7 separate regions of the Homo sapiens genome follow, and regions 1, 2, 3, 5, 6 and 7 are each linked to region 4. Evidence: promoter capture Hi-C in 16 types of primary human blood cells and fetal thymus (Javierre and others, 2016). All regions are on one chromosome and are shown on one strand. Each heading gives the region's core, a stretch centred on a gene start or on the middle of the fragment in contact. The rest is flanking DNA. Distances are from core to core; before and after follow the strand shown. Region 1 overlaps KCTD16 (potassium channel tetramerization domain containing 16). Region 2 overlaps KCTD16 (potassium channel tetramerization domain containing 16). Region 3 overlaps KCTD16 (potassium channel tetramerization domain containing 16). Region 4 holds the start of PLAC8L1 (PLAC8 like 1). Region 5 has its middle 20 kb from the start of YIPF5. Region 6 has its middle 49 kb from the start of YIPF5. Region 7 overlaps KCTD16 (potassium channel tetramerization domain containing 16).

Region 1 (3,601 bases), core at 473-2,972, 1.9 Mb before region 4:
TCCGTATAGTAGAACCTAGTAGTATCCATCTGGCTTTAAGTTTAAGAAAAGTTCATAGGTTCATATTAAGAATGGGGGTAAGGATAGACCAATGAAGCAGAATTCAAACCCCAATTGCCCTGACCCGAATTCTGGCATTCTTCACCATCATGCCATACCACAGAAATACCAGATGGCAATGCTATCTTTTTCGAACTGCCAAAACAGAGCTATTCAAGGGAGCCGCCTCACAAGATAAAATGAGAAGCCCACATAAAGCCTCTAGTGGGGTGTGTGGATGGGAGAAGGTGCTTAACATGGCTGATTTTTTTTCTTCTTTTCCTCTTCAAATTTCAAGTTTTATGAACACAATTTTCTCATGATACAGCTTTTAAGAAATTGAACCAGATTGGGCCGAAATCTGACAATCTGTCCTCAGTTACCCACACAGAACTTCTGGGATACAATCTCTTCTCCCAGTGACTCCTACACAGCATTATTTTTAAGAATTTGATTTCCTAGGTACCACGGATATGAAAAGGCACAGAATTTCATAGTACAAAAAAGATGTCAAAAGAATTCGAAACAGAATAGGAAGAATTTATCATTTTCTTCCTCTGCTCCACCACATACCTAAGCAAAAATAAATTGTGTGTGTGTGTGTGTGTGTGTGTGTGTGTGTGTGTGTGTGTGTCTTTAAAACTAAGAAGTCATGTTAGAGTTTCTGGCTCTAGAATCAGTAGCAAGACTAATATGAGTGAAGTAGTCTTAAACAAGATTAATCTTAGTGCCCTAGCAGGCATTTGCCTAGAGAAAGGGTACATTTAAGCATGAAACCTATGACTAACCTGAAACTCTGTTTAAATCATAAAATATTCAGACAATGAGCTTCTTTTTTAGTAGCTTGCCTAGTTTTGCATTTGGGGAGAGTTATTTGGGAACATAATTTTGTTGTAAGTATTTCATGTTAATAACAGCTTTCCATTACTTTAGAAGCCTAGCTATTATAGCAGCAAGCTTGCAACCAAAAAACTAGAAAGAAAAACTTATTCTTTATTTAAAAACCAATTGCCTTTCTCAACTCCTTTTTCTTCTGAATCTTGATGAAAATCCTAAAACCCTAGAGACAGGGAAGTATACACTTTTGCTTTTCCTTATCTCTTATGGTTTTTGTTTTTCTCCACTTAACTGTTTACCTTTCTCTGCAATGAACTATAGATGCCTCTGATTGAGTGCAAGTCACCCAGCAGATACTGTGGTAAGTGCTTTGCAGATGTTGTGATGTTTTCTCTTTAGAGCACTAAGATTTCTCATTAGAATGATTAGGAGGTAGGGATTATTTCCCCTATTTTACAGATAAGAAGACTGAGACCTAGGAAGATTCTTACCAAAGATCATAGCTAGTAAATAATAAAATCAGGATTCAGACTCCAGTCAAGTCTGTCTGATACCAAAGACTATACATGCTTTTTAATTGCTAAGTTACACTGGGTTATCCATAGACTACAGAGTTTTCCTATCCATGAGGTAATATTTTTAAAAGATTTAGAACAATCTGTGGAATATAGTAAGTATGAGTTCATTAAATAAAATTGATCTTATTGTTTCTTCAGTTGTTCACCGTAAAATTGAACCTGAAGTGATTCTATGTTTGACTTTGAGAAAAAAAAATATGTCTTTTTTTTTTTTGACAGGGTCTCAGTCTATTACCCAGGCTGAAGTGCAGTGGCATCGTCTTGGCTCACTGCGACCTCTGCCTCCCAGCTTCAAGCAATCTTCCCACCTCAGCCACCCAAGTAGCTGGGATTACAGGCATGTGCCACCACACCAAGCTAATTTTTGTATTTTTAGTTGAGATGGGATTTCGCCATGTTGGTCAGGCTGGTCTCAAACTCCTGACCTCAGGTGATCTGCCCGCCTTGGCCTCCCAAAATGCTGGGATTACAGGTGTGAGACACTGCGCCTGGCCAAATCTATTTCTTTATGAATACATAATAGCCAACATTTGAGGGTGGTGTATTTTTTCCAGGCTTTATGCTAAGGGTTTTATGCATTATTAATTTATTTAACTATTTTTATTAAACAGCTACTATATGCCAAACAGTGTTCTAGGCATTGAGGAGTCAGCACTGAATAAAACACACATAGCTGTCTGCCTTCAAGGAGCTTATATCCTAGGATGTGTATGTATACATGTGTCTGGAGAGATGGATAATAAACAGCATAAATAAACAAAATATAAATTATGTCACAAGGATATGTAGATAAACACTATGGAGAATGAAGCAGGCTGGGTTTAGGGATGTGTGTTGGAATTTTAGGTGGAAGACAGGCATGTCTTCACTGAGGCAGTGATATTTAAATAAAGGCTTGTAGAAGATGAACTTTCAAACTATGGGGAATCTGACAGGCAGAGGGAAAAGCACATATCAAGGTCCTGAGGTTGGAGAGTGCTGGGTCTATTGGAGAAGAAGCTTAGAAGGGTAGTGTAGCTGGAACTGGTAAGGGAGGAAGAGGCTGGGAGAAAATGAGATTACAGAGATAAAAGGGAGCCAGATTCTGTAGGGATTTATAGGTCTTTGTAAGGACTTTGACTCTGACTCTGCTGACATGGGCAGCCATTGTTGGGTTTTCAGCAGGTAAGTGACAAGATTTGGCCTATTTTTAAAAGCTGCCTGCCAAATGATGTCAGAAATTTGACATATATTTTAACAAGCTGCTGTTGTATTCAACCTTGGCTGCTATTTTGAGAACAGACTGATGAAACCAAGGGAAGAAGTGTGGCAATCAATTAGACAACTATCGGAATAATCCAGTTGAGAGGAGTGGATGGCTCAGAGAAGGTCGATAGGAGTGGAAATGGTGAGAATGGTCAGTTTCTGAATATATTTTGAAGGTAGAGGCATCAGAATATGCTGATGGCATGGGTGTGTTGTATGAGCAAAAGAACAGTGTTGAGGATGACTTCAAGAATTTTAGCTTAAGCAATTTGGAAGAATGGAGTTACTGCTAATCAAGATAAAGAAACCTGAGGAAAGATTGCCTTTTTTAGAGGTAATATTAGGAATTCAAAATCTGGACATGTTAGCTTGGAGATGCTTGTTAGACATTCATGTGAATAATAGGAGTTAGACATATGGGTCTGTGATTGTAGGGCAGAGTTCAGGCTTAAGATATAAAGCTGGGAGTCATCACCATGTAGAATGTATTTAAATCTGAGACTGAATGACAATACTAAGGAAGTAATGCAGTAAGAAAAGAGAGTAGGTCCGAGAATGGAGGTCTAAGCACTCAAGTGTTAAGACCTGGGAGTTGAAGAGGAACCTACAAAGGAGACTCAGAAGGAGTGGCCAATGAAGTAGGAAGAGAACCAGGAAAGTGGGGTGTCCTGGAAGCCAGGTGAAAATAAAAATGCTTCAAGTGGGAGGGAATAATTAACTGAGTCACATACTGCTGAAAGAGTAAATTCTTTGCAAATTGAGAGTAATGGCTATTGGATATACCAATGTGGAGGTCATTGATAACTTTGACAGCAGCAGTTTCGATGAACTGCTGAGGGCAAAAGCCTCATTGGAATGTATTTCAGAGGAATCGTAGCAGAGGAACTAGGAAAAGTGAGTAC
Region 2 (3,753 bases), core at 594-3,093, 1.9 Mb before region 4:
TTTTGCTCCAGCCAAACTGGATAATTGACTGTTCTTTTCCCAACTGCTGCTCCCCTCCATATACCCCCTGACACACTTACACACATATTTTTTCAACCACTTTTCCCTTCTACATAGAACCTTTAGCTTCTGTTTTCTAGGTTCCACCTGTCCTTCAAAGTGCAATAGCAACTCTGTCTAGTCATGATATTTCCTCTCATTCCTCTCATCCTCCCTCCCTAAGCCCTGAAGACAGCTGGCTGAGTTATCCTTCCTCAGATTTCTTTAAGAAATCTCACCTCCTCTTTGGGGGTGTTTACCAGCTTTTGCCTCCACTTATCTCTCTCTAGACTTGTCTGCTAAATTATCTCAACAGCCGAGACAGTTCCCTGTTTTTCTATGCATCTCAGGCTAACAGTGAGTGTTTGCGGCAGTGCTTCTGCATGGAGCTGCGTATTTCCATTTTTTTTTTTTTCAGCAGTACAAATAAACTTTAGGCCTTTTCTGATAACATGTTAAATATAAAGTATTTTTCTTATATGGTCAATACAAGTGAATTTCTTTCACCATTCATGCTGTAAAAGGCAGAATAATTAATAATGAAGGTAAATGTAGAGACAGGCTTGCATTTCTTGAGGCTACAGTGAGAAGGGATCAGTTTCTTATAGGGCTTGGCAGGGTATGTCAAGTTGGTGGACCAAAGGGGGCATCTCATTGCTGACTTTGGGAGCTTAAGACTTCACAAGTGGAAAGAAATTAGTAATTGAAATTGGGACTCAGTTGAGGATGCTGGGTAAGTGAACAGTGTTACTCAGGGTGACTTTCAGTTTCTCTTCTTCAAGGTTTCAGGTTGATGCAAGAGACTGTGATAACACTGCCCCCTTCTGTTACTCTAGATTGTTAATCCTGATGACGTCTCAAGTCGGCTTTGATGATCTTGACATGAATTTTTGATTTCTAAGAAATGCTTACTTAAGGCAGAAGAGAAAGGAAATCATATGTTCAATGTGATACACGATTTCATTCTATCAAGTTCTGCCTTTTTATAGTTTGCTTAATCATTACATTTTGTCATGAGGTTTCACTTAATTGCATTATAATGGGAGATTTTAGACCAGGGAACGAATAAAGCGAAGGATTGTAACAAAATCAATTAATTCATCTATTTATTTGTGTTCTAAGGGGTTACATGATTTCTTCTAGTTCCTAGAGCTTTCCTATTTCTTCCCTTGGAAGTTAAAGCAAGCCACTGGTTGAGGCACTGTGGCTTTTTCATTTATGACAGAACCTTTCAGATTTTAAGAGCAGTTGAAGAGCTGTGAATGCTGGTCCTTCACATATCAAAAACCAGCACCACTTTCTATGAATATCACTATTTTTGAAATGATTTATCTCAGAACTTTTGAATGTCTCTGTAACCATTTTTTTCCCTTTCCTTATCAGCCCATTTGTATGGAACTCTAAAGAAGGTGAGGCCAGATAGCAGAGAGCTTTGAATATACACCAAGGACTTTGGAGTTTATTCTATGAGCAGTGGTGAGCCAATTAAGATATCTGGGCAAATAATGGCATCTTTAGAAAGAGGACACTGTTAGCTTTGTGTCAAATGAACTGAGATGTAAAAACTTGAAAGGAGGAAGAACATTAACAGGTCCATATAGAAATACCACCACCTGTACCCCCAAAATCCTTGCTAGCTTTTCCTCATGTATTCTACTTCACTCTGGTCTGAGACATCATCATATATCACTAAATCCCTGTAAATTCTCCCCACTGATCTCCCTACAACTAATTTTGTTTCCCTGACAATCTGTTATCCCCATATCAGCCAAAGTCACCTTTTAAAAAGTAAGCAAACCAGAACATGTCACTTCTAACTTTAAATTCCCAATGACTTCCCATAACACATAGAATGAAATCTGTGGTTTGGTCCCTGCCTACTTCTCAGACCTGCACTCTCACCCTTGCTCATTGGGATCCAACTTGCTGGCTTTCTTGGTTCCTTGAACAAGCCGAGCTTAGTTTCACCTCAGACAGCTGAGCCTTTGCTGTTTCCATTCCACCTGCCTAGAGCACACTGTTCCCAGCATTTCACATAGCTGGCTCCCCTCCCCAGAGTCTCAGCCTGCAGTATCAATCCTCTTCTCCTTGCCCCAAACAAGATTTTTTAAATATTACCTATTCTATTTTATTCATAGCTCATTTCACTATATGAAATGATCTTGCTCATTTATTTGTTTATTTGTTTATGATCTGTGTGTCTGGCCTATAATGGAAGTTCCATGATGGCAAAGAGCTGGTCTACTTTATTCATTTCTGGATCCCCAACACATAGAGCTTATAGCTTAGTGTTGTGCCTGGCTCATGGCTCCATAATTATTTCTTAGTCAAATTTGGGTAAAAGGCAAAGAACAAAGGTACGACAAATGGAAGCGAAGAGAAGAGATATCTGAAAGAAGTATAGTAGAGAAAGTGGGTAGACTTAATTATTGAGTGTTGGGTGCCAATGGAAAGGGAGGGATCAGATGATGGATTTTCACTTGGACTGAGAAACCTGTGATGCTCTTAACACAGAAGGAGAACTTGGAGAAATGAAAAAGATGAGAGTGGAAAACAGATATTTAGCTTAGGACTCGAGTGTAAGGTGCTGGTAGATCTCTGTAAAAATGCCCAGCAGGTGTATGGAAGTTGAGAAGAAAGCAAGGCCAAGCATTTAGGTGTTACAGTCATTTGCATACAGTGAAGATGGTTCACCGAGACTGAATTAGTCAACAAGGGGGAATATTTAGGAAGAAAGAAGAGAACATTAAAAATGTGCAGACTTTCACTCAGATATCCTTGTATATAAAGCACCATGCTGGGACAAGTGACATCTAACAAATGAGGAACAAGCTCTGGAGCTTATGGGGCCAGAGATGGTGACACTGATAACTTGTCAAGTAGAAAATGTGTTATCCATGCGGGAAACATTACAACACTGCCGTATGGTGCTCTTTGACTTATCCAAACCACCTCTCAGTAGGAGGCTCTGCATCCTCAAGGGAGATTTATATGATTGCTCTGTTTCCTTCCCTTCACATCTGTAAGGGGTCCAGAGTAAGGATTGGTCAATGTTAGTGATGTGGCTCTACCCTGAGCTCTTGTGGAGCTAATAATTAGAACAGTTTGGGGAAGGAGAGAATTCATTTTTAAAAAGACACGAAGCAATGTGTTTGTAATAGCAAATGATACATTTGTTGAGCATTTACTATGGGCCAGTTAGTGCACTAAGCATTTAACATGCATTATTTATTTAGTTCTCACAAAACTCTGTATGGGAAGTACAATTATTACCCCTGTTGTACAGATGAGAAAACTGTGGCTCAGATGTATGTAACTTTTTCAGCTGGTAAACAATGGAGGTGGGATTCGACCCCAGGACTCTCTGATCCCAAAGCCCACCCTTTTAACCATGATGCTCTATTGCTTCTCTGTGCAAGAAATAATCATTTTTAGTACTTAAATTGTGTTTTGGTATTTTTTGTGAATACTATGAATTTGTGAATACTAGGTGAACTTAAGGAAAATTTTATTTGCAGTAATGAAAGGTGACCACAAATCCTTCAATGTTGTCATTTTGTGCTGATCAAAAGTAACTTGTTCTTTTATTAGATTTCCTTTGTGTCACACACTTGCCTTAAAGAACTGTTGCTTACACCGTCAGCTTCCCCAGACCCTCAGGATATCCTTAATTACAGGACTCCCTGTGTATCTGAAATAGAAATAGTGCTTGAA
Region 3 (3,916 bases), core at 423-2,922, 1.9 Mb before region 4:
GCTGATCATGACCCTCAGAAATTTAAACTGTATGTTTTGTTTATTCCATTGTACATTTATTTATTTATTTGACAAATAATTACTAAATATCTTCAATGGACCTGCTATTGTGCTGGGTGATGAGGATTAGGGAGAAAATACACACACAATCTTTGTCTTAAAGAAGCATACAGTCTAGAAGGGAGATAAAAATTAATCAAAGAATCAAACTAATAAATGGAAAGATACAACTGTGGTAGATACTTTGAAAGAGAAGACTATTTTAATATAAGAGTGTATAATGAGGGAATAGAGGGTTTAACCTCATCAGAGAAGTCAAGGAAAACATCCGCAAGGAAGTTATGGTTGCGGTGCGACTTTAAGTATAGGAGTTAACAAGACACATGGAGGAAATAAGAGTATTCCAGGCAAAAGGACTAAAATCTGCAAAAGTCTTGAGGGAGGAAGAAGAATGACATGTCTGAAGAACTCAAAAGGGTCCAGAATGGGAGGAAAGCAGAGGACAAAGAGGAAGTGGGGCTGATGTGGTTTGGATCTGTGTCCCCATCCAAATCTCATGTTCAACTGTAATCCCCAATCTTGGAGGTCAGGTCTGGTGGGAGGTGATTGGATCATGGAGGCTGTTTCTCATGGTTTAACATCATCCCCCTTGGAGCGGTTGTTGCAATAGTGAGTTCTCATGACATCTGGTTGTTTAAAAGTGTGTAGTACTTCCCCCTCCTCTCTCTTCATCCTGCTTTGGCCACGTGAAGTGCTGGCTCCCCCTTCACCTTCTGCCATGACTGTAAATTCCCTGAGGCCTCCCCAGAAGCAAATGCTGCCATGCTTCCTATGAAGCCTGCAGAACCATGGGCCAATTAAACCTTTTTTCTTTATAAATTACCCAGTCTCAGCTATCTCTTTATAGCAATGTAAGAATGGACTAACATGGGGACACAAGATGGCATTGAGATTCAGACACTACAGGGCTTTTTGGGCTATGGTAAGAATTGTGGTCTTTATCCTAAGGACAGTCAGTGAGCACTCTTGAGGTGTACAGGGCAATGATGTTATGAGTAAGGATGCTGCATCACAGAGATCAGCTGATGTTTGGGCAGAGAGTTGGTCTTCATCAAGCTTCATATTAGTCAGCTGAGTCTCCACTTTTCTATCATTATGTTTATAGGGAAGAGTAATTTAATGTGAACTCTTCAATCCAGAGTGGGGCTTGTAAGTTTTTGTTTGGGAGTGCATTATCAAAAAAGCACTGAATATAATTCCAGGTAACATTAAAAAATTATCAGGCTATGTCCATTTGCTCAATAAATGGTGGCTATTTTGCAGAAGCCATTAGGATACAAATAAGGGAAATCTGGCTTTGAGTTACATCTGATAAACATTTATTTAGGGGACAAAATATTGGGAATATCCAAACAATAGAATATCTTGTTTCATTCTGTTTAAAATCTAATAGAATAAAATAATTAATATAGAACTTTTATGGCATGTAATTTTTAAATTAAAGTTTTAAATACTTGTTGTGTGTTAACTTAGGAGAAACTGGATATAGGGTATTGTGTACCCTATCTCCATATCACCTCAAGTAAAACACAACAAATCACCAAATGATAATTTAACATTGACAAGGTACCATCATTGACAAGGTGCCAACATTGACAAGGTACCATAATCATTAAAATCAAGCCTTTATTGATCTCCTTCTCCTCCTCCTCCTTCTTCTTCATCATTGTCATCGTCCTTGTCATCATCGTCTCCCCTTTTCAGGCCCTCTGATTTCTGTGTCATTCCTCCAACTCCCACATCATGTTCTTTCTTGCCTCCTCTAGCCATGGAGAAGATGTATCAGGGAGAGCATGAACTTTGGAGTCAGTTATACATTGGTTTGGCTCTCAGCAACACCTGTCAACAGTGTGATCTTGAGCAAATCATTTAGCCTTTTGCAGTTCATGTTCCTTTTACTGTAAATTCAAGATAATGGCATTTCTCAGGGGTATTGTGAGAATTAACTTAGTTTATTAGGTAAAGCACTTATTCTAGTTTCTGTGGGATTATGTTTTTCAATGATGGTGGTTGCAATAGCTCCCATCCCATACACTCTTTTACATGACCAGCTACCCTAATATTCAAAGATAGGGATTATTTCTTCTCTGTGACTTGTGACTGCTTTGACCACAGAGTATGATGGAAATGATGACTATGACTTCCAAGACTGGGTAATGAAAGACATTGAAGCTTCTGCTTTGTTTACTGAAACACTTCCTCTGGGGGCCCTGAGCTGTCATGTAAGAAATCTGATCACCCTGAGGCAACTCAGGCACACAGAGAGACTACTGGGAGGCTCTGTCAACAGCTTCTGTTGAGATCCCAGCCACCAGCCTGCATTAGCTGCCAGTTGTGTGAGGGGAGAGACCTATAGATGATTTTAGTTCCCAGCAATCAAGTCTTTCCAGCTGTGGCTCCAAACATGGGAGCACAGATAAACTATTCCCACTGTGCTGTCTGAATTTCTGGCCCATAAAATCTGTGAATATGATAAAATAGTTGTTTGAAGCTGGTTGTGGGGTAGGTAAGTGTTGGTAGCAACTGGAACAGTTTTCAATAAATTATAGTAATTAATACCATGATCATGATTATTATTATTACCTACTTTACAGGGTAATTTTTATGTAATACATTACCAGAAAAGTAAACCAACCAATACTGCTGATTATGAACACACTTAAAGCCTAGAAGATGTTGTAGACTATTTCTTAATTTTCCCTCTAAGTCATTGTTTTCAATGGGTGTCCAACGGTGTCTTCTCTCTCAGGACTTCCTCCTACTTCTCTAATTTTCCCACCATCTTGTCTGTCCACTGTTCTTCCCTGCAAGCAACACCTGATGAGCAGGTCCTGGGCTATTTTCCATGCTCAGTGACTCTGACGTTAGGAGGAGGCATGTGATTTCAGATTCTTCATTTATGTCATAAATATTTATTGAGCTTCTTTTATGTAGCACTGGGAATGTGGCAATGACTGAGACAGATAACCTTGCCCTTATGGAGCTTTCTTTCCATTTTGGGGAATTAAACAATGTGTCAGATAAATAATCAAAATATACAGTACGGGAGAAGGAAGTAAGCCCCTTGGAGGCAGAGACTTGAGAAAGGGAGAGTAGGGGGCAGTAGTGCCATTTAAGAGAGAGTTACAAGGATGATGTCATTGAGAAGAGGCAATTTCAGTAAAATCTTGAAAGAGGCAAAGAAAGAAAGCTTTATGGATATCTGGAGAATGTGTTTAGTGCAGAAGAACCAGGAAAATCAAAGATCTGAGCTGGCTCATGGGCATGAGTGTTCAAGGAACACCAAGAAGGCCGGTGTGGATGAAACAAACTGGCAGGAACTGTGGACAGTGAAGCAAGTGAACTAAATACTGTCCAGTCTCGTAGGACATTGTGAGGAATTTGATTTTGTCTCTAAGATGGGAGAACAATAGAAGATTTGGACAAGAAAGAATATTATCTGACTTTCATTTTAACAGGCTCCCTCTGGCTGCTCTTTTGAAAATAGACTGTCGAGAGATGTGGTTGGGAACAGGGAGACCCATTAGGAGGCCATTCCAACCATTTAGGCAGGGAATGAGTACTACTTGAAGCCATGATAATAGGAATGAAGAAGGTGAGAAACAGCCTCTGGCTTTGCTGATGAATTGGATGTGTCACGGATGACATTGTGGTTTTTGTTCTGAAAACTAGAAGCCTATCATGACTATTTCTGAAAGAGGGAAGGCTGTGGGGGCAGTAGGGTTGGAGAGAAATCTTAGTTTGGGACATGTTGAGTTTGACATGCCTATTCGTTTCCACCATGGAAGAATCTTTCAAAGGTAAATATTTCCTGCTTCTCTTAAAATAAAAACTCAAGGTGCTAATATAACAAAGA
Region 4 (3,809 bases), core at 873-3,372:
GGCCTCAGACCCCATCTCTTAAAAAAAAAAGATTCAGTCAGGGTAACCAACCATTCCAGTTGGCCCAGGACCAAGGGTTTTCCCAGGATAGGGAAGTTTTAGTGCTAAAACCAGTACAGTTCCAGGCAAACCAAGATGGTTGGTGATCCTAACCCTCAGAAGGTGAGGGAGGCTTTAACTCAGGAGGCAGGAGGCTAACTCCTGTTAAAGTTTGATGGATGAGATACATACTTTTCCCTCTTTTTGACCTCACTCCATTCCTCTTCCTCTTCTAGCACAAGCCCTACCATGTCTCCCACATGCCTGGTTCTTCAGCCTGGGGTGTTACATGTCACTCTTCCGTAATCACACTTGGAGTATTGTGAAATCATTCTGCCTTGTACCTAGGCCTCCTTGATTATTTCAAACTCAGCTGAAGCCAAAACCCTTGAGTTTTCATTTCAAAAGGGTGGAAATGATTGGCAGTCTCTAAAAATAAAGTTCCACTTGGTCAGGGTTCAACATTTTAAGAATAAAGAGATACCATTTCACCCAAGCCAGCCCTTTTCTTGTCACCAGCCAAGAAAGGCCAGAAGGAACAAATCAGTTGCCCTCTTTTCAAGTTTGCATGGAGAAAAGATAGCAACCACTTTCTTCCCAAGCCCAGTTTTCTTTTCCCTGGTTCCTTATAAGTAGAGGTTGATTCGATAGTCCAACTAAAGAGCAAAAGCTAGGGGAAAAACTCACCCTATTCCCTACCTCAAGTTGGAAATAAAATGTTCATCTTCAGATGACATGTGTGACAACAGAGGTGAGTATATGTTGAGTAAGGAAAGATCCTCAGGACACCTGAAGAAGTTACTTCCAAACCAATTCATAGTGAGAAGTGTTTTCTTGTCCTTTGGGCTATCCTTTTTCCCTTTGGCAATAAGCTGGTTTCTAAACTTCGGATTAGTCCAAAGTGAAACATCTCTTGAAAGAATGTTCCCTTAATATTCTGGAACCTGAGGTCATAGCAGTGTAACTAACAGACATCTTTTTTCTTTAAAAACAGGTATACACCTAACTGTGGACACATTCATCTTACTAATCTGTAGGGAGATATTGCTGGAGTATAGAGTAAATAGAAGAAAAAGACTTATCTTTGGTGGAAAACTCTTTAAGAGATGCCTCTAGTAAACATTTATCTAGCTAAGTGCCACTTGACCGTTCCTTGGAAGATTCAGAAGGCTGAAAATTTCTGCCATGCCATGTGACTGAGAAGCAGCAGAGACCTCTCTTCATCCCCTGAACTGCTGGTCCAATTCAGCCAGATGATGCAAGTCCCATAGCCAACCCAAAAGCAGGAGCAAAAAAAAGTCTTTCAGCGCAGGTATTGTATTTGAATCCATCTTATGAAAGGTGGTCTCCTCAAGTTTGAGCTATGGTAGATTGTCACAAGCCTCAAAGCCTTTTCAGAACTTCTAGAAATTCTCTGCTCTTCCATTAACTTCATTGATAATGCCAGGAAAGTGGCATTTCTTTCCTACCCAGTCCAGACGGAATCTAGTAACTGAAGCAAGGCTTGCCTGGTGATGTCCTCACAACAGCTCTGAATCCTCAAGGTCTCAGGAGCCTCTGAATCATGCCTCTGGCACATGTCTTATGGAGGTGTGGACCCTAGAAATATTAGGAAATATCCTAAGACAAAAAATTAGGCAAAATTTCACGTTGAGGAAAGGGCTCTGCAATCATAATTTGACATTACATTAGAAAGACATCAGGAGGATACTGCCAATTATATCATATATTCTTTTCATCAGACCCATAGAGAATGGTTGCTTAGGGTTCTGAACTTCAAAGCATTTATTGAACCAGGTTGTTAGGAAAAGCCTATAATACCTTCCAAATCAAGATTCCTCAGACATAGCTTCATAACTGCCTTCAATCATGGGGTTCTGGGCAACTGTCATTGTCTTCTTAACAGTAAGGATGTACCCTACATTAAGGACAGGTATGTTTTTTCTGCTTACTACTCTATTCCAAGTGCTGACCACAGTGTCTGGCACATAAAAAGCACTCAATAATTTGTTGAATAAATGTGCCCTACATGAAAATTCAGGTTTATAAGAATAACAGAAATTAAGAGGTGATTACTAGCTTTGCAAAAAAAAAAAAAAAAAAAAAAAAAGATTTACAGTAAGATTCCTTTGAAGAGTAAACCACCATGGTACATATAAGCTATGACTCCATATTTTTACATTTCATTTGCGCCCAACTTTTCTAATCAAACGTCTATTGTATGAAGTGACTAATCCACATGCTACACAGCTTTTTCATTTAAAAATAAAATGAAAAGAATAGAAAAGGCATGTGCTTTATAAAAGAATGCCAAATATTTATGAAAAAGAAATAATAGCATTAGAATATCACCATTTTGCATAGCCCCAGCATAACAACATATCAGGAAGGAAATTCAGAAGCATTAAAACCATTAGATAAAAAAGATTAGGAACCAAATATTCTCAAGGTGCAAAAATATAACTATTCCACATATTTCTAATTGCAAAAGAGAAAATGTACCTTAACTATGAAAAATTCCAGAAGTACTCAAAATGCATATTTACATTGGAAAGTTCTGAAAGTGTAAGAAAAAAAAAGTACCCTTACAATAAAAGCTCTGGGTGTGATTTTAACAAATATGCCTTTACATCAGAAGGTCCTAGAAGTGATCAAAATGTATCTTTAACATTACCCTTCACCCTTCCTCCATGATTGTAGGTTCCTGAGGCCTCCCCAGCCATGCCTCCTGTATAGCCTGTGGAACTGAGTCAATTAAAACTCTTTTTTAAATAAATTACCCAGTCTCAGGTAGTTTTTTATAGCAGTATAAAAACACACTAGGCCAGATGCAGTGGCTCACACCTGTAATCCCAGCACTTTGGGAGGCTGAGACGGGCAGATCATCTGAGGTCAGGAGTTTCAGACCAGCCTGGCCAACGTGGTGAAACCCCATCTCTACTTAAAAATACAAAAATTAGCCAGGCGTGGTGGCAGGCACTGTAATCCCAGCTACTCAGGAGGCTGAGGCAAGAGGATCGCTTGAACCTGGAAGGCAGAGGTTGCAGTGAGCCAAGATCATTCGACTGCACTCCAGTCTAGATGACAGAGCAAGATTCTGTCTCAAAAAAAAAAAAAAGAAAAAGAAAAGAAAACACACTAATACAAGCTCTATGCACAGCAGAGGGCCATTACAAATCTTATTGATGCTGTAAATTTTGGGGTGAAGTATTTTCTACCTGACTGGGGTCCATATAAACTTCTCCTTTCTCTGACCTCCTAATGGCCCTGGTAACACTGGCCTTGGTCAAATACATTCCTGTTTTCCATGCACGAATTCTTTGTTGTCTAAGTGCAATGAAGATGGAGGCCAGGGCTCTAATTCAACTCTGCTGCTAATACATAGGATCTTGAGCCAGTGACTTTGACCTGTTTCTTCATGTGGCTTCCTTGCTATTCCTTCAGCACACCAGCTACATGCCCCTGCCTCAGGGCAAAAAATGCTTTTGACCACATACGTGCTAACAAAACTACATATGCATTTACCCTCAGACCCACAAGCCCACTTCTACAAATTTACTCTGAAGATATACCTCCACAAAAGTGAAATGACATTATTCATGAGGTTACTCACTATATCATTCCATACACATTCTATAAAATATTAAAAACTTAGAAACAACCTATATGTCCATCCATGGAGACTGGTTGAATAAACTAAGGTACACCTTTACAATAGTATTACATGAGCAAGGAAAGAAGAGGGGCAAAAGAGGAAGGAGGGAAGAAAA
Region 5 (3,862 bases), core at 899-3,398, 2.0 Mb before region 4:
ACTATTTATAACTTTTACAGCTACAAGTAAAAAAGCTGTTGGTTTTTGTATTAAAATATTTCAATTAAAATGGTAGGACAACTTGGACCTGATTTGTCATTGCAGCTATTATCCATGGTTTGGAGATTCCCGGAAGTCTTATAGTAGCAGAGTAGAAGGGAAAGAGCATGAGGCTTTGAAATCAGACAGATGTGGTCCTACAGCAATCTGTATTACCTTGTCCAATTGAATTAACCTCTTAGAGCTTCAATTTATTTATCATTAAAATAAGACAATATTAATTCTCTTCTGAAAATTGTATCAAGATCCAGAGCACAAGCTCTGGAGTAAGGCTCAAATGATGGTTCCAACGTTTACCCACAGGGTAACTGTGTGAACTTCATTTTCCTTATGAATGAAAATAAATATTAACGATATTTACCTCATCAGGTAGGGAGGAGACAAATTAGAGAACCAGAAATAACTCCATTCTACACATTAGTAGACCTGCATTATAAAAAATTATACTAAATTACTATATTTTTAATTTTTTCAATAAAAATTTTGTGGAAATTTGTTCTTTCTTATATATAATATGCATTTTACATCTATAACACCTATTTTACATGTATAGATATTATACATAATATCCTTGATTTTGCCTCTTGGCCAGTAAAGCCTAAAATATTTATTATCTAGCCTGATACAGAAAAAGTTTGCTGACCCCTGGTTTAGGATATAGGGAGTCACACTGTCCTGAGATACTACTTCTTCTAAGTCATGTATCTTTTCCATTAATAAAGCAGATACCATTAAGGTAAAAGCAGAGAGACTGAGGCTAGAGGAGGAAGAAAAATACAGACAATTTTTTAAAGAGATAAAGGAGAGAAAAGCTTTCCTTAACGGAGAGAAAAGGTTTCATTTTTTCAGGACTAACCTAGAAAAATGCTTTATGGTTAGCTTAACAGTACCTATCCTGGAGAGACCATAAAATAAATGGTGCTGGAACAATTGGCTATGCATTATGGGGGAAAACACCAGAAATTGATTTCTTCTCCATATAACAAGGGGCTAAAAAGTTTTAAATGTGAAAAGCAAAACTTTAAAATCTTTAGAAGAACTATTGAGACTGCTTTTATGACTATGGGATAAGGCAAAAAGACACAAACCCATACAAATGTAACACTTCAACCCTATGTAGATACCCAAAGAAACCCTTGCACACACGGTAGATACACTGCTTACAGACCATTGTTTGTAAAAGCAAGACTGGAGACAAACATAATGTCTATTAGCAGAAAAATGGATCAATGCGTGATGATATACTCATGGTATAATACAGACCAGTAAACAGAGCGTCACCAAGTACTCACATAACTGAACTGCAGAAACTTAGGAGTAAAAAAAGCAAGTTACAGAAGAAAAGCACAGCATTGTATCATTTATATAAAAGTCAAAAACATGCCAAGTAATACTACAATTTTTAAGAATAGATACATACCTAGTAAAAATATAAAGAAATGCTCAAAATGATAAACTAGTAATCTCTGAGGGGAAGATATGGGATGTAATTAAAGAATATGCAGGGTGTTTTAGATAGATTTAATATTGTTTTCACATTTCACTCTAAATGCAAGGGACATGCTATTATACTTTTTATCTTATTGCATATATTACATCTTATGATAAATATAAAAATCAAATCTATTAATAAACAACATAAAGTCTCCCTCTCCTTTATAAGCATTGCCTTTGGAGAGTCATACTAGTTTTTCCTGGACTTTCCATGTTGCTGAAATGAACACAATTGCTTTCTTCAAGAGTAGTGCAGCTTTCAATTTCTCAAAGATGTATTAGTTATTGAACTAAGGAAATGGTTACTGGACTTTTTGTGAAGAGTCACGTTACACCCCAGGAGGCTAGTGCTAATAGAGATGAACGTCCTTGGTACTTTAGAGTGAATCAGGTACCTACAAGATTGAGAGAGGCACTGATGAACCAAAAAGAAAAAAAATTAATCTAATGGTAGAATATCAAACTCTGAACTATGGGTGATATGCCTGGGTAATAGCTATATTTTTCAATGCAATTAGACTGGAAGGACAACATTTTATTTGTTTATTGATTGAGCCAGGGTCTCCCTCTGTCGCCCAGGCTGGAGTACAGTGTGATTATGGCTCACTGCAGTCTCAACCTCTTATGCTCAAGTGATCCTCCCACCTCAGCTTCCCAAGTAGCTGGGTCTATAGGTGTACACCACCATGCCTGACTAATATTTTTATTTTTGTAGAGACAGGGTCTTACTATATTACAGGCTGGTCTCGAACTCCTGGGCTGAAGCACATGGCCTCTCAAATTGCTGGGATAACAGGTGTGAATCATTACACCCAGCCAAGGACAAAATATTTAAAAGTCAAAATTACATTAAGCGTCATTGTAGCAAAATTACATTTTCTTTCTAAGGTATAGTTAAAACTTCTTCCAATCAAGAAGTTTGAAAACAGCATCTATAAATTCATTAATTCTCTCATTTAGTAAAATATTTGTCCCAGGTGGCAAGTGTGTGTGTACACACATGCACACACACACACAAATATGTAAAGTTCTTTTTGTTTTACAAAGATGGTATACTATATATACTTCCTGATAAAATTAAAATATATTCAGGGAAAACTTTACCATGTCAGTATTTATTCTCTTTTTAATATGGCTAAAATCTTATCACCATCTCAGAAATTGTAGAATTTCAGAATTGAAATGCTTTAAAGAATCTAATACAATTTCTTCATTTTATATAGAGAAAATTAAGGCACAAAAATTACTTATTCAAAATCTTACCAAGTTTTTTACCCATAACAGGGTGAGCACTAAGATATGTATTTACCACTGTCAGTTCAAAAGTATGCAAGAAATGTGTCACTTAGTTACATGAAAAGAAATAGATGGTTGGGCACAGTGGCTCATTCCTGTAATTCCAGCATATTGGGAGGCTAAGGTGGGAGGACTGCTTGAGCCCAGGAGTTCAAGACTAGCCTCAGCAACATAGTGATACTCTGTCTCTACAAAAATATGTAAAAAAAATTCCAAGTGTGGTGGTAGCGTGTGCCTGTGGTCCTAGCTACTCGGCAGGCTGAGGAGGGAGGACTTCAGCCCGAAAGGTCAAGGCTGCAGTAAGCCATGAATGCACCACTGCACTCCAGCCGAGGCAACAGAGCAAGAGCCTGTCAAAAAAAAAAAAAAAAAAAAAGAAAAAGATGTGAGGTCACCTTTACACACTCATGATTAGATACATGAAACATGCATTTTCCTGATCTGGACTATACAATTAAAGAAAGACATGAAGAATTCGGAAGGGATTTAGAGATTAATCCAAAGGCAATTAGAAAAAGAAAATAAGTTATGGGGCGGAAAAAAAACAAAAAACAAAACATCGAAGTAGAGAATATTAAGCTTGCTAAGGAGGAAGCCAAAAGCAGGGCTTTGTTCATGGTGGGCACTTAATGGCTTGGAACTTCATTGGGAAAACTCATAGAACAAGGGTGGAAAACATTTTCCAAGTTCCTAAACCAGGAAAATCTCAAGCAGGGGACTTATTTCTCCCCCTATACTTGCAAATATATATTTGATATTATTTTTCCCATCACTTGAAGATGAAATATTCTTTTACTTTTTTTGACCAAAAACTGAGAATAGACAAAACTTTGAAAGGCACAACAAATGCTACAAATACATCTTATTTCTAGATTAGAGTCAATTAAAGATCAAAGGGAAGGAAGAGATATAAACAGAAGGGTGAGACATCAAAAGGATAGAGACAGAGGTAGGGATAGAAGCCATACCCTAGGCATTAGCTATAGTGTTCTTCTTTAAAATCCTGATAAAC
Region 6 (3,685 bases), core at 401-2,900, 2.0 Mb before region 4:
CAGGAGAGAAGTTGAGACCACTGCACTACTCTTCAAATAAGGGGACTCTTCATTCAATCTCTGCTCTTATTGTGGCAGGAGAGGTTTCCTGTCCCCTTCACCCTCTCTGGCCTTTCCATTTTTCAGCCTTACAAGAAGGAGTTCTTGTTTTGTTTTGATCTAGCCTAGCATGTGCTAAAGTTAAGCAGTTTGGTGCAGTCAGCATTGGGGTTTGGGTGGGGTATTTATATCTTGTAGTTGTTCCATTATGAACAACTGCAAGGCACAAGCTGATTCTAAGGAGGCTTCTGTTCTACTAAGACACATAGCAGAAATATGATTGTTGACATTAACCAAGCTTTATGGCTTGCAGCTTCACCCCCCTCCAGGAGAGAATGACTTTACTATCTAGAATTCAAGTTAGCTTTGTCAAAGATCAGATAGTTGTAGGTTTATAGCCTTATCTCTGGGTTCTGTATTCTGTTTCATTGGTCTATGTGTCTGTTTTTGTACCAGTACCATGCTGTTTGGGTTATTGTAGCCTTGTAGTATAGTTTGAAATCAGGTAGTGTGATGCCTCCAGCTTTGCTCTTTTGCTTAGGATTATCTTGGCTATTTGGGCTTTTTTTTGGTTTCATATAAATTTTAAAGTAGTTTTTTCTAGTTCTGTGAAGAATCTCAATGGTAGTTTAATAGGAATAGCACTGAATATTTAAATTGCTTTGGACAGTGTGGCCATTTTAATGATATTGATTCTTCCTATCCATGAGCATGAATTTCTTTATCTATTTGTTTGTGTCATCTCTGATTTCTTTGAGCAGTGTTTTGTAGTTATCAATGTAGAGATCTTTCACCTCCCTAGTTAGTTGTATTCCTACGTATTTTATTCTTTTTGTGGCAATTGTGAATGGGATTGTGTTCCAGATTTGGCTCTTGGCTTGACTGTTGTTGTACAGGAATGCTAATGATTTTTGTACTTGGATTATGGATCCTGAGACTTCGCTGGAGTCATCAGATTAAGGAGCTTTTAGACCAATGCTATGTGGTTTTCTAGATATAGAATCATGTCATCTGCAAATAGCGATAGTTTGACTTCCTCTCTTCATATTTAGATGCCGTTGTTTTTCTCTCTTGCCTGATTACTCTGGCCAGGATTTCCAATAGTATGTTGAAGAGGAGTGGTGAGAGAAGGCATCCTTGTCTTGTGCTAGTTTTCAAGGAGAATGCTTCCAGCTTTTTTCAATTCAGTATGATGTTGGCTGTGGGTTTGTCATAGATGGCTCTTAGTATTTTGCAGCTGGTTCCTTCAATACCTAGTTCTTGAGGGTTTTTAACATGAAGGCATACTGAATTTTATCAAAAGCCTTTTCTTCTACTGAGATAATCATGTGGTTTTTGTCCTTAGCTCTGCTTATATGATGAATCACATTTATTGACTTGCATATGTTGAACCAACCTTACATCCCATGGGTAAAGCCTACTTGATCATGGTGGATAAACTTTTTGATGTGCTGTTGGATTCAGTTTGCAAGTATTTTGTTGAGAATTTTTGCATTGACGTTCTTCAAGGATATTGGCCTGAAGTTTACTTTTTCTGTTGTGTTTCTGCCAGGTTTTGGTATCAGGCTGATGCTGGCCTCATAGAATGAGCTGGGAAGGAGTCCCATCTCGTCAATATTTTTCAAATAGTTTCAGCAGGAATGGTACCAGCTCTTCTTTGTGCATCTGGTAGAATTCAGCTGTGAATTGGTCTGGTGCTGGGCCTTTGTTGGTAGGCTATTTATTGCTCATTCAATTTGGGAGCTTGTTTTTGGTCTGTTCAGGGATTCAATTTCTTCCTGGTTCAGTCTTGGGGGGATGTACGTTTTGAGGAATTTATCTGTTTTTTCTGAATTTTCTAGTTTGTGTGCATTGAAGCTATGGATCTGATGGTTATTTGCATTTCTGTGGGGTCAGTGGTAATATCCACTTTGTAATTTCTAATTGATTTTATTTGGATCTTCTTTCTTTTCTTCTTTACTAGTCTAGCTAGCATAGTGGTCTATCTATTTTATTAATTTTTTGAAAAAACCAAGTCCTGGATTCATTGATCTAGTTACGCTTTTATTATCCTAAAGGATCTTACCTGGTTTTGTAACAAATTGAGCATTACTGTCTCAGCATTACTTACTTTCTTTGCTACTCCTTATCGAATCACAATTTTTCATATCATCTTTGGAACTAGCTTTGATATCCATCTGCTTCTCTCATGAATACATAAAATCAAATCTTAACAAGTGCTCACTGTTTGCATTAAAATTATATTTTAATGGGTGGGTAATAATGACTCAGTTTCCTGCTGGGCTCTAATTTCTCACTCTTGGCTTCCTTTTCAAATACTTTGCTAATTTTTTCATAAAGCAGATTCTGGGCTCCTTCCCCAGAAATTCTGATTCAGTGAGCTCTTGGAGAATAAGTATTTTTGAATGTTCTTCCTGTGATTCTAATGCATTACTAAGTTTGACTCACTGCCTTGATTAATATTAATAATCATATTAATACTAACAAATATTAAATTTATTATCTTAGATAAAATTAATAATAGTAGCTATTGATCATTTCCTTATTACCAGCCCCTGTGCTATGTGCTTTATATACATTGTGCCTTTTATTCTTATCTAATCTCTATCCAAACCCTAGACAAAAAGAGGCGGCTTGGAAAGCTCCATCCATTTTTTAAGGGTACCAGACAAAATAGAATACAAAAAGAGTGCTTTATACCGCAAAAATAAGAATAGCTGACATTAATCATGCTGTTTCTTTTTGCCAAGTTCACTGATAAGGAATTTACACTTGGGTACCCCTCCCTTTGCCCCAGACTGAACTTCAATTATTTTTGCATGATTACATTCATTCATTAAATCATCCTAATAGCATTTGTCAGCCTTCTACCATTTTCTAGCTACTGTCCTAAGGATACCAGGCAACACTGCACCTTATCTTTAAGAAGCTTATCAGCTTACAAAGCCAGGGAATCACTTTTTATAAAAAAAAATCAGGCCCTGGCCAATTTGCATACTTTTCTACCTGTATTCCAACACTTGCTCAGGATTATGATCTCCCAAATTCATGGCCTAGGACGAGAATCATTGCAGAGAGATCTGTCCAGACCTGATTACCTCTAATGTTGCAGAACTTTCTCCTTAGTTCAGCTAAAACCGGGCTCTTGTCACACAGCCAGGAAGGATTAGGCTCATGGACACATGGAAGGGTGAGAAAAATGGAATTTAGTGGGTGAAAAGGAAAAAGGAAAAATAACTCTCAGCAAAGTGAGAGAGAGTCCTTCTAGCAGGTTTCCCACCTCACAGATTGAATCCCAGGTCACCATACAGGGACAGGAGAGGCCAGGCTCCTCCTCACTGAAACACTGTGCACTTCCCGAGGCTCTACCCCATCCTCCCAGTGTGCAGATGGGGATTAGTCAAAAAGAATCCGCTGGGAAATGGCAGGCTTCATCTAGGACCACAGTCCAGCTTTTCAGCCTTGCTATTTTAGGCTTGAAGGTGGGGTTTCACCGGGGCACCCTTGGCTGCCTTCTGTCTCTATCACTAGATCTTTTGGGCCCTTTGTTAAAAGGCAATTATTTTAGGTACTACCTATCTCCACAAACTCTCAAGCAGAGTTTGGCAGGTATTGAAAACGTTCAGACTAAATCTTTTGGTTGGCT
Region 7 (3,866 bases), core at 676-3,175, 1.9 Mb before region 4:
ATAAAAGGAAGCCAGAGAGGGAAGAAATGAAACAATGATACTGAAGCCTTTTAAGTAAGGGGTTCTTAGAGGTCAGTTCATTTGCTTAAATGAAGATACCCTGCAGATTCCTCATTTTATGATATGGCATTATTCTAAACTATAAACTGTGAGCCATTGATCCCTGAAAGGAAAAGAGTAAATCAGCCTGCACTCTTTGGTACTTGATTTTAACTGCCGATTTTCAACAGGCCCAGGAGTTGGGTGAAGTAAATTCCACAAGAAATATGTTTCCAGTGTTAACATTTGATTTCCTCTATTCTTATTCTAAAACAAATCCAGAATTCAGGATTAAAATATCTAAATTTCTTTAAACATAAAAGTAGGACTGAATTTCTTGGACTGGTTTTTTTCCTTAGTTATGTTTAATCATTTGGCAATGGTGCCGGGAACCTTGGTAGAGAGGCTAGTGGGAAGCCAAGTCATTCTCTACTAAGCTATCACACATTTGGTTAAGACACATGTATTGCATAGCCAGAACAACCTGTGGAAAAAAACGAAATCAGTAATCAGTTCAGGAGTATATTGATGTGCGATAACAAACATCATTTGGTTCATTAATCCTATCTGTGGCCTTTATCTACAATCTATATCTTTCTTTATGCTAGAGCTTAGTGGACAGGTATTGTCTTCTTCCTTTTGGTAAATTTCCCACTAGTGTAGAGATAAGATTCCGGCTTTTTAGCTTTCTATAAAGGAATATGACATTATCTATAATTCTGAAGCAGAAATATCTTCTCCAAACTTTTTGGAGAAGTACATCTTAAAGATAGTTCCAATGCAGCTTTGTAATATTTACCATGTTCTCCGATTTTGAATATTTGAAAACATAGCATCGTAAGAAGCTTCAACCAAATAAATGGAAACATACCAGTTATACCCTCCAAAAAGACCACATTGGATTTATAGTCACTTGCTTACATAAATGAGACCCACACACTGAAATTTATTTGTCTACCAGTGGCATTTCTGTGTTCATCAAAGGCTCATCTGTCCAACACGATTTCCCTTTAGATTTATCTGGACAGGCTCCATTCTCCTGACTATGTCGTTTCTTCTTTCTTTGTTGAATTGCTGAGAGATTGCTGAGGAACAGTTTGTTCTCCATCTCTCCATGGACAGGCTAGCACAAATGCACAGGAACTTCATACCAGCAGCATATATCTTGCAAATGATATACTTCCCCTTTGTACCCACCATCTAGAGCTAAGTGTTAACTCTTCCTCTGTCTTAGGACCAATAAAACTGACAGCTGGCTTTCTAGGGTGCATAACAGCTTCCGTGCAGCTGCTTAGCCATAATTATTTAATTAGAAGCTGCCAACTGTGCCTATATAAGCATTAATTCATCAAGCTGTTGTGCTCGGGTTAATGGGACGAAACCATGGGAGATGCTCTAAAGAAGGGAGTTGGCTGCATGCAAAGATGCTTTTCACAAAGGAACTCAACTTCCTCCTGGGCTTAGGGGGAAATATATATATATATATATTTATATGTGTGTATATATATAAATATATATATATTTATATGTGTATATATATACACATATATATGTGTGTATGTATGTATATATATGTGTGTGTATATATATGTATATATATATATATACAAGCTCCTTAGATCTAAGGAATTAACAATTTAAGCAATCAGTCTTTTTTAATAACACAGGAATAAGGCAGAGTCACTTTGCATGGATCAATATCTCAGTAAAAAATAAACAGCAAGAAATTAGTGCATAGCATGATGGTTCATAATCATGGGGAGAGACTTCTTGTTTCCCTGTTTGCCTATTTTTTCTTCTGAGTCTTCCAAGAAAAATTGGGGAGACCGAAATCTACCTATCAACCATGAATAAGTTAGATTCTTACCTCATTTAAATTTTCATGTGGACCTAGAGTTGATGGTCAATATCAGGTGGTTTTCAGTGTGTGTTTTGTTAGTGTAGAACTATGAACAATGAAAAAGTCAACAGGTATTTGTATGTGCTTAAGAGGCAGGTAAGAAATGTGTTTGTCTACATCACTCACACACCAAAATACAGGTGAAATGCTATGGATTATGATTCACTTATATGCAACTAAAAGAGTTAATATGAGTGATAGAGGAACATAGAAAAGAAACGTCTACCCTAGGGATTGCCTTACAAAGTATTTTAGACATGTCCTTTGCTTTAATTTAAAACAATAAGAAGGTTTCTTTACTACTTTCCCAACCAACTGACTGAATAATTACTTTTCAAGCATTATGTGGAAGGTGAGGTCATAAATATCAGAAAATGCCTTCTTGATTCACCTCTAAATAAAATGAGAACTATGTAATCTGCAAAAGACAAGTCCTGATTTTGAACTAGATACTCAATAACAATTCACATCACTTAGGAACCAAATGACAGGTGCATGGAAATAAATGAACCTTTATTTCCAGAGCCATCTTCTGATGCCTGAGAGAGTGGGAAGATTGTTCTTGGTTGGAGAGAATTATGCACATTTCCATAAGCCTACTCATGAGTGAGTTACTTCAGCCAAATGCCTGAAAGCACTAAGATTTAAAGGCATTTGCCTCTAATAAAGCTGTGATAACGTGACCACACTTAGGGAGGTTAATTCATAGGACACTTATTCTGAAAACATACACTCTGAATTCTATGAATTATGGAAACAGACACACTGATTCATCATCTTTTCAACAAATTGCAGCTTGTAAGTGCATTTTAACCTTTCTTCTCTTTACTTATTTTCCTAAAATTTAGAGTTGCTTCCACAGAAGTCTCTAAATTACCTTTTAGATGCAGTATATATCTTCAGGATTATTGATTAAGATAGGCTGTTGGAAAAAAGTAGATCAAGAAATTATCTTCCATTTATAATTCAGCTGTGTGACCTCGTATTGGGGAGAAATATATGCTTTGGCCACTGTGAATAATTTAGCTAAGCTTGACTTTAACAAGCTTCAATAAGAGCATGTGCCTTCATAAGAAAACAGGTGGAAATGCATCTACCCTAAGATTATTCTAGCCTTTTTTTTCTCCTGGCTACTTGAAAGATACCAGTACAGGTTGAGCATCCCTACTTCAAAAATTCCATGTCCAAAATGATTCAAAATCCAGGACTTCTTGAGCACCAGCATGATGCCACAAGTGGAAAATTCCACATATAAGTACTCAACACAAACTTTGTTTCATGTCCCAAATTATTAAAACTATTGTATACAATTACATTAGGCTATGTGTATAATGTGCATATAAAACATAAATGAATTGCATGTTCAAACTTGAGTCTTAGCCCTAAGATATGTCATTACATATATGCAAATATCATAAAATCTGAAAAAATCCAAAATCTGAAACATGTCCAGTTCAGGCATTTTGAGTAAGGGATATTCAACCTGTAATAATTTCAATTTTTATTACCTATAGAGATATGGTATTGGCACATTCAAAGTGAAACATCAGGGATAGCAGAGTGGCCAAAATCATAAGGTATGTGATGTTTGGTCCTTACACTACCAGCATCTCTCTCTGTGACTTCCTTCTGTTGTCTCACCTTAGCTGCTCCTCTTTCCTTCTGTTTGAGTCATGTCTGCTCTCCAGTTCTTTCTCCCATGCCATAATCAAAGCTCATCAGGAAAAATTCTGCTCTGTCATTATATTTAGAATGCTTTCAAGGCATGATGTTACCTTCCCCAGGGGTATTTGTACATAAGAGCACTTTTAATAGTTGTGGATCAGGCATCCTTTTACCTTGAAGAAAGTGTTCTTAAGATTTGAAGCTTCTTAATTTCTGATGAAAAACAAACCGCAGTTTAAGTATAAGGCTTCATTATGAAGTC

Evidence for each region. The method cuts DNA at HindIII sites, captures the fragments that hold promoters and counts their contacts. A CHiCAGO score of 5 or more calls a contact.
Region 1: a contact is called between a fragment that was not itself captured here and the fragment with the promoter of PLAC8L1 in region 4, in 6 of 17 cell types (naive CD8 T cells, naive B cells, total B cells and 3 more). The highest score is 12.1, in naive CD8 T cells.
Region 2: a contact is called between a fragment that was not itself captured here and the fragment with the promoter of PLAC8L1 in region 4, in 5 of 17 cell types (M0 macrophages, M2 macrophages, total B cells and 2 more). The highest score is 7.8, in M0 macrophages.
Region 3: a contact is called between a fragment that was not itself captured here and the fragment with the promoter of PLAC8L1 in region 4, in 5 of 17 cell types (total B cells, naive CD8 T cells, naive B cells and 2 more). The highest score is 12.4, in total B cells.
Region 5: a contact is called between a fragment that was not itself captured here and the fragment with the promoter of PLAC8L1 in region 4, in 5 of 17 cell types (neutrophils, M0 macrophages, total B cells and 2 more). The highest score is 9.1, in neutrophils.
Region 6: a contact is called between a fragment that was not itself captured here and the fragment with the promoter of PLAC8L1 in region 4, in 1 of 17 cell types (neutrophils). The highest score is 5.9, in neutrophils.
Region 7: a fragment that was not itself captured here is called in contact with the fragment with the promoter of PLAC8L1 in region 4 in 14 of 17 cell types (total B cells, naive B cells, naive CD8 T cells and 11 more); the score reaches 25.7 in total B cells.

The regions. Positions count from the first base shown.
Region 1 is chr5:144,224,925-144,228,525 of GRCh38, forward strand. All of the region lies in intron 3 of KCTD16 (potassium channel tetramerization domain containing 16), which reads left to right. Among named protein-coding and RNA genes, the nearest start is that of KCTD16, 56 kb to the left of the region's middle. The HindIII fragment of the contact is 1,457 bases long and covers 995-2,451 here.
Region 2 is chr5:144,191,382-144,195,134 of GRCh38, forward strand. The region is part of intron 2 of KCTD16 (potassium channel tetramerization domain containing 16); the gene reads left to right. Among named protein-coding and RNA genes, the nearest start is that of KCTD16, 22 kb to the left of the region's middle. The HindIII fragment of the contact is 5,543 bases long and covers 1-3,753 here.
Region 3 is chr5:144,245,037-144,248,952 of GRCh38, forward strand. The region is part of intron 3 of KCTD16 (potassium channel tetramerization domain containing 16); the gene reads left to right. Among named protein-coding and RNA genes, the nearest start is that of KCTD16, 76 kb to the left of the region's middle. The HindIII fragment of the contact is 1,116 bases long and covers 1,115-2,230 here.
Region 4 is chr5:146,103,455-146,107,263 of GRCh38, forward strand. PLAC8L1 (PLAC8 like 1) reads right to left here and starts at 2,123. Exons shown (of 4, transcript NM_001029869.3): 1 at 739-2,123. The coding sequence starts at 857. RefSeq lists a silencer at 218-418. The HindIII fragment of the contact is 7,482 bases long and covers 1-3,809 here.
Region 5 is chr5:144,148,278-144,152,139 of GRCh38, forward strand. No RefSeq gene overlaps it. Among named protein-coding and RNA genes, the nearest start is that of YIPF5, 20 kb to the right of the region's middle. The HindIII fragment of the contact is 2,557 bases long and covers 871-3,427 here.
Region 6 is chr5:144,119,412-144,123,096 of GRCh38, forward strand. No RefSeq gene overlaps it. Among named protein-coding and RNA genes, the nearest start is that of YIPF5, 49 kb to the right of the region's middle. The HindIII fragment of the contact is 2,631 bases long and covers 336-2,966 here.
Region 7 is chr5:144,208,279-144,212,144 of GRCh38, forward strand. All of the region lies in intron 3 of KCTD16 (potassium channel tetramerization domain containing 16), which reads left to right. Among named protein-coding and RNA genes, the nearest start is that of KCTD16, 39 kb to the left of the region's middle. The HindIII fragment of the contact is 2,086 bases long and covers 883-2,968 here.